Linked DNA regions of Homo sapiens: region 2 is linked to region 1. The links are contacts of gene promoters, found by promoter capture Hi-C in human tissues and cell types (Jung and others, 2019). All regions are on one chromosome and are shown on one strand. The core of a region is centred on a gene start or on the middle of the fragment in contact, and the rest is flanking DNA. Distances in the headings are between cores, read along the strand shown. Region 1 holds the start of COLGALT2 (collagen beta(1-O)galactosyltransferase 2). Region 2 overlaps C1orf21 (chromosome 1 open reading frame 21).

Evidence for each region. The method cuts DNA at HindIII sites, captures the fragments that hold promoters and counts their contacts. A contact is called where the count stands out against the background at its distance.
Region 2: a fragment that was not itself captured here is called in contact with the fragment with the promoter of COLGALT2 in region 1 in 1 of the 25 tissues and cell types used here (dorsolateral prefrontal cortex).

Annotation. Positions count from the first base shown.
Region 1 is chr1:184,035,847-184,039,491 of GRCh38, forward strand. COLGALT2 (collagen beta(1-O)galactosyltransferase 2) reads right to left here and starts at 1,882. Exons shown (of 12, transcript NM_015101.4): 1 at 1,249-1,882. The coding sequence starts at 1,511. RefSeq lists a silencer at 1,605-1,694. The HindIII fragment of the contact is 4,544 bases long and covers 1-3,645 here.
Region 2 is chr1:184,578,690-184,582,292 of GRCh38, forward strand. The region is part of intron 3 of C1orf21 (chromosome 1 open reading frame 21); the gene reads left to right. Among named protein-coding and RNA genes, the nearest start is that of EDEM3, 170 kb to the right of the region's middle. The HindIII fragment of the contact is 6,340 bases long and covers 1-3,603 here.

The sequences.
Region 1 (3,645 bases), core at 632-3,131:
CTCCGCCAGGCGGTCACGTATGGCAGGGTATATAGTAAAGCAGTGTACAGCACAGAGCTGTACTATATCACATGTTTGCTTTCGCACCTTTGCACCTCTCCCACCAGGTACTCTGAGGCTGCCAATTCTAGCTGCTGCTTTTACTCCTCTTCCTCTCTTTGCCCAACCGCTGCTTTAAGGATGTGTCTCGCCTGAGAACAGCTCCCTTTATCAACACAAGACAGAAATTGCTCCAGAGTGACCTGGGCTCTGTCTTCCTCAGGGGGCCAGAGTCTTCTTGTCCGAGTACCTACCTGACAGCACATCTCCCCTGGCCAGCATCCACCTCCTTGTCCTCCACAACCCACTCAGCGGCTAACCTGGCCACCAACTAACTTCTCGCCCTCGGATCCTCGCGTTTATAAAAGGTGCGAGACGACCAAGTTCTACAAGGTGGGGCGGGCAGGCACCCGCACTTATCCCCTGGCCCTCCCCGCAGCAGACACAGGGACCAGGTCCAAGCTTCTTTCCTCCGGGGACAAAACTTGGCTGTTTATCTTTCCCAGGGCATCTTCGTCTCTCCCCGGGACGTGGAACCCCGATGCACCGGCAGGGACAGCCCGGAGCGCTCGCAGGAGACCAGGCCCACGGTGGTGCCATGGTTGGGCACACTCCGCGGGCTCCGCCCAATCTCCACCCCTAGGTCCAGGTCCCCCTAGGAGAGCTAGGAGCACATTTCCAGCCTGGAGCAGGAGCCCGGCACCGGAAAGTCAGAGCAGCGCACTGCGGCGCCCCAGCCACTGCGGAGCCCCTGGCCAACCGCAGTTACGTTCCATCTGTCGTATCTACATGGGAATACGGCGACAGGCACCCTATCCCCTCACGTCAGGGCTAGCAGTATGAGGTGGGGAAAGAGGAAACCTCGAGAGTTAAAAGCGAGGGAACTGAAAGTCCCCTTGAGGGGTGTCCCCCATGCCCCTTGTGGGACAAAGCCCCAATTCGCAGGCTACCCTCCAGAGCTCCAGCGGTCCGGTTCTCCCCATCAGCACCCTCTGCGCACACTGACCCGCGCGTCCCTCCGCAGCCTGACCGCCCGATCCGCCAGCCACCGGCGCGGGCAGCGAGGGGGTGTGTGCGCCAGATTTTCCGCGTGCCCCCCCGCCCCTCCAGCGGCTCCCTCGCCCTGCAGCTGCTGCTCCGGGCGCTGTCCGCGCTGGGCAGGCCGCCCCCGCGTCCCGCCGCGGCGGCCCGGGGCCCGTGCGCGCTCACCAGATGGCCATCCTGCTCTTGGGGTAGTCCAGCCGCTCCAGGCAGCCGAGGAAGTGCGGCAGCGTGTGCGCCGCGTTGCGGGCGAGGACCGCCACGAGCACCGTGGGGCTCTGCAGGGGCGACTCCGGGAAAACCACCGGCTCCTCTCCGTCGTCCTCCGAGTCCCGCTCGGCGACGAAGCGCGCTCGGCAGCCTTCGCGGAGCAGGGCTGAGGAGAGGAGCAGTAGCGACCAGGCGAGGGTGGCAGCAGGGCGCGCAGCCATGTTCCGGGCCGAGGCGGGCGGCGGGGAAGTCCTGGCGCGAGCGCCCGGCTGGGCTGCCTGAGGGCGGCGGCGGCTGCCGGGGAGCAAGGGGCTGCGAGGGGCGGCCGGGGGATGCGGCTTGCCGCGGCCGGCCGGCTCACACACTGGCCTCGGCGGCTGCGGTTCCCAGGACCCTCCCGCCGCCGCTGCACCGCCCAGGCCCCAGTGCGGGTGCGCAGCGTACCTGCAGCCGCTGGCGCTCCCCTGCGCCTCGGGCTCGCAGACAGTAGTGGCCGAGGGGCTGTGTGCCCTGAGTCCTGAGGAAAGTTCCTCTAGTCCAGGTTCCGCTCGTACAGCTGAGGTCTGTGGCCTTCCCTAGAGCCGCGAGTTGTGGCCCTGTCTGCCAATGAGCCTGTGAGTGTGTGTGTGTGTGTGTGTGTGTGTGTGTGTGTGTGTACATAACGGTACAACCCCAAGAAAATTTATTCTGCTTTTGCAAACCGCAGACTGAAGCCCTTCACAGTGATGCAATGTATCCAGTTTTCATAATGCACCTATTGACTGAGTAGAGTTCTAAAATGAAAAGTCTCCCCAACTATTCACGATTATGACAAACACTTGTTTAACCACCGCAAAGGCAGCATGTCGCATTTTCTTATATACTCAACTTCTGAAATTCATTCTTGACTGAGTAGACACCTAATAACACAAAGTTTGAAGACTTGGAGAATTTTGGAGCCAGATCAGACCCCGCAAAATAAAAGAAAGCCCTTGGGAGACACTGTCCTGAAGCCTCACTCTACTGTGAACCCAGTAAGCCTCCTCACAGGAGGGCTGTGAAAGAATAAATTCACTTAGCTGGTTTTCTTTTTCCGTAATAAGCCAATATGATAGAGTAACAAAGAGGGAAAATTCGCGCATGTTGGAGAGCAGAGAAGAGATAAGGAAGAAAAGAAGGGGTGAAGGAAGAACACAATTAGCACATAAAATGAAACTGCTGGCATACACTGCTAAAGGAGATTTACTTTTTTTTTTTTTTTTTTTTTGAGACAGGGCCTCACTCTGTTGCCGGGGCTGGAGTGCAGAGGCACGATCACAATTCACTGCAGCCTCGACCTCCTGGGCTCAAGCAATCCTCCCACCTCAGCCTCCCGAGTAGCTGGGACCACAGGTGTCCATCACCACGCCTAGCTAATTTTTTTTTTTTTTTTTTTTTTTGTAGAGACGGGTTTTCACCATTTTGCCCAGGCTGGTCTGGAACTCCTGGGCTCAAGTGATCTGCCCAACTCGGCCTCCCAAAGTGTTACGATTACAGGCATCAGCCACCATGCTCGGCTGGATATTTAGTTTTGAAGATATATTGTGTAGCCTTTGATAGATAAGTATGGAGGGTGTTTTGGTGCCAGTGCACATTCATGATCTCCAATCCCAACTCACCCTCAGGTCTGTCCCATAGTCTTTTTATTAGTTGTTATCAATCCTTCTCAGCAACTATTAGAAGTCTTCCCTACTGTCTTTTGAAGTATATCACCTCCTTCATCCAGCTCCCCCAACACCACTGTCTCCAACTAGCATCCCTACCAAGACCTTTCTTACTTGCAGGTGCCTCCTCACGACAGGGTCTTTGATCACAGACTAGAAAGGGAGAGGTCTCCCTTTCTAGCCCATGATTTTTCTCTATCATTCCACTCTCTACTGAATCTTCAACTGATCTCTATCAACTCCTTTCTCTCAAGCTAAATACTTGGTCAGTCTTCTCTTATCCGTTAAAAAAAAAAGAAAGAAAAGCTTTAAAAAAAAGTCCTGTGTCTTCTTCTAGTCATCCCTTTGCTTGACCAAGCTCCTTGGAAGAGAGATCTATACTTGTATTCTCCACTTCTTCATCTCCCATCTTTCCCACCACAGTGCAGTAAGGCGTCAGCCCTCCCCACTGTTCTGCAAAACCAACAGATGGCCTCAGCATTGGCAGATTCAGTAAACTCTTCCGTTCTCACCTTCCTGGACTTCGATTACATAATCTCCCATCCTAGATCTCCTCTGATACTACTTGTCTCTGAGCCAAGCCCCTTCACTGTGTGCCTCCCTATAGTGTGCTAGTCTTCCCACTCCATATGGTCTCCTGTGGTTATATCCTCAAAATCTATGTCTTCTGCTC
Region 2 (3,603 bases), core at 732-3,231, 540 kb after region 1:
ATCAGACTACTAAGAAGAGGAGACCTCTGTGATTAATCTTAGATAGTTAGATAGTTCTGTGATCAAGAATACATACATATTTTATTAATTAGCATTATGGTAGTTATTAAGGCTATCCATAAATATTCCAATTCTCCTCCCAAGCACAAGAGTAGGATTGTATAAAGGGAATTAAAAAATAAAAATATAAACTTTCTCAACATAAGCTCTGTCACGTTTGAGACAGCTTTGTAAGCAATGATATCCGTCATTTAGTCCATCACTGAAGAACTGAGGACCTGGCATCCATCCTCTTGTGAAGGTTAAAAAAAAAAAAAAAAAAAAAGAACTGAGCGTCTTGGGTGCCCTTTAAAGTTCTTTTTTTTTTTGAGACAGAGTCACTCCATTGCCCAGACAGGAGTGCAGTGGCTCCATCTCGGCTCATTGCAACCTCCACCTCCTGGGTTCAAACAATTCTTGTGCTTCAGCCTCCTGAGTAGCTGGGACTACAGGAGTGCACCACCATGCCTGGCTAATTTTTTTTTTTTTTTTTTGGTATTTTTAGTAGAGATAGGGTTCCACCATGTTAGCCAGGCTGGTCTCAAACTCCTGGACTCAAGTGATCTGCCCACCTCAGCCTCCCGAAGTGCTGGGATTATAGGCATGAACTACTACACCTGACCTAAAGGTATTTTTTTAATATAAGCTGGGTTTTTTTTTTTTTTTTTTTTTTTTTTTTGAGACGAGGTCTCACCATGTTGCCCAGTCTGGTCTTGAACTCCTGGCCTCAAGCAATCTCCCACCTCAGCATCCCATCAAGATTTTCTTTTTTTTTTTTTTTTTCCTTTTTTTTTTGTTTAAGATGGAGTTTCACTCTTGTCGCCCAGGCTGGAGTGCAGTGGCACGATCTCAGCTCACTGCAACCTCCACCTCCTGGGTTCAAGTGATTCTCCTGCCTCAGCCTCCCGAGTAGCTGGGATTACAGGCACCCACCACCACACCTGGCTAATTTTTGTATTTTTAGCAGAGACGGGGTTTCACCATGTTGGTTAGGCTGGTCTCGAACTCCTGACCTCGTGATCCACCCTCCTCGGCCTGTCAAAGTGCTGGGATTACAGGCATGAGCCACTGCGCCCAGCCCAAGATTTTCTTAAAGTAGAGATGACTCCTTGTGTGAAAGATTTTTTAAAATTAGAAAACAAAAAGTCAGAAGGAGCCAAATCAGGACTGTAGGGTGGATGCCTAATGATTTCCCATAAAAACTCTTGCAAAATTGCCCTTGCTTAATGAGAGGAATGAGCAGGAGCCTTGTCATGGTGGAGAAGGACTCTCTGGTGAAGCTTTCTGGGGCATTTTTCTCCAAAAGTATTGGCTAACTTTCTCAAAACACTCTCCTAATAATCAGGTGTTATCATTCTTTGGCCCTCCAGAAAGTCAACAAGCAAAATGTCTTGAACATCCCTAAAAATTTTTGCCATGACCTTGACTCTTGACTGGTTCACTTTTGCTTTATGTAGACCACTTCCTCCTCTTGGTAGCCATCACTTTGATTGTGCTTTGTCTTCAGGATTGTACTGGTAAAGCCACGTTTCATCTCCTGTTACAATCCTTTGAGGGAATGCAGATCAGGTTCTCGATCTCACTTATTTAAAGTTTTCATTGAAAGCTCTGCTCTTGTCTGCAGCTAATCTGGGTGCAACAGCTTTGGCACCCATTGAATGGAAAGTCTACTGAACTTGAATTTTTTAGTCAGACTTACATAAGCTGAACCAATTGAGATGTCTATGATGTTGACTATTGTTTCTGCTGTTAATCATTGGTCCTCCTCAAATAGGGCATGAACAAGATTGATTTTTCCCTTACAAATTGATGTGGATGGTCTGCCCCTGTGGGCTTCATCTTCAACATCATCTCATCCCTTCTTAATATGAATTATCCACTTGTAACCTGCTGATTTCTTTGGGACGTTGTCCCCATAAACTTTTCAACAAGCATCAATGATTTCACCATTCTTCCACTTAAGCTTCACCATAAATTTGTGTTTGTTCTTGCTTCAGTTTTAGTAAAATTCATATTGCTCTGATAGGGGCTGTTTTCAAACTGATATCTTATCCTTAGTGCCTTGAACTAGATTCTGTTCAATCATGTTATAACTAGTCAGTACAAATTTATTTTGGTGGAAAAAATTTTGAAATCCATGCATATTTTTTTCATAATACACGTTTTCCATGAACTTTTTTGAAAACTCCCTATGTATTTTTTTCCTCTCTTGAATTTAGATGTGGTCCTGTGACATGCTTTGGCCAAGTAAGTAGGAACATCTAACCCTTGCTGAACTCCAGCCATGGTTATTATAAAACCACCTGTTGACATGGGGCCTCCATTAACCCAAGTCGCTGGGTGATTAGATTAAGCAGAGCCATCCTGCAGCCTGTGCTGGTCGTGTAGTGTGTGCAGGAGATAAACTATTAATATTGGCTGGGCGAGGTGGCTCACGCCTGTAATCCCAGCACTTTTTGAGGCCAAGGCAGGTGGATCACCTGAGGTTGGGAGTTCCAGACCAGCCTGACCAATATGGTGAAACCCCATCTCTACTAAAAATACAAAAATTAGCCAGGCATGGTGGCATGCATCTGTAATCCCAGCCACTCAGGAGGAGGCTGAGGCGGGAGAATTGCTTGAACCTGGGAGGCGAAGGTTGCAGTGAGCCGAGATTGTGCCACTGCACTCCAGCCTGAGTGACAGAGGGAGACCCTGTCTCAAAAAAAAAAAAAAATTAATACTGGGGGTCATTTTTTACTATAGCATAACCTACCCTATTCTGACTGATTAAAAACACTCTGGGTAAAAATTGAATGTGGTTCTTCCAAGTTCGTTGATTTTCTGTGTGTGTATATAATACTTATTTGAAAAACTTGGAGATATATTATCTTTTTAAAACAGCCTTAACTTATAATTCCCAGTGGAATTTATATCATAGCTTATTTTAATTATTGACATGGTGACTTAATGACTTTTAATAAATTTGTTGGTATGCAATTAAATCTGTTCTGAGCAATTTTTTACAACTCTGTTTACTTTCTTAAGATTGTAAATGTTTGCAGTCTACCTTGAAAAGCAACTTTGTGAAAAATGTTAGGTGCTTTAAAACTGATTTGCCCCACTTCATGTTTGTTTGATATAAAATGAGATACATGGCTGTATTTTAATTTATAGAAAAATAACTTCCAAAAAGCTGAGACTTTACATGCCAACTTTATTACTACTAAATAATTGTAACAAAATACTAATAACTCTAATAATCTCTGTGGACAGGTAATTGTAATGGAAGTATTGACTTCAGGTAATTGTATTGATACTGGTGGCTTGAGTTAATTGTTGAATCTGGCAGCTTGGGCTTCATTTGTAAACATCCTGAAATTCTGAGAGTCAAGGTGGCTTCTCTGATCACCATCATTCAGAAGACAAGATAAAATTCCTTTGTATTTGAAGGAGACAGTGTCCTATCTCATGTTAATACCGCTTGAGAAATCAAGTGTAAGACATCAAATGGGATTGTTTTCTTAGAGATTACATCCTGTGGGTTACTCCCCCAAAGCTAGCATTATTGTTTATTTTATAGCC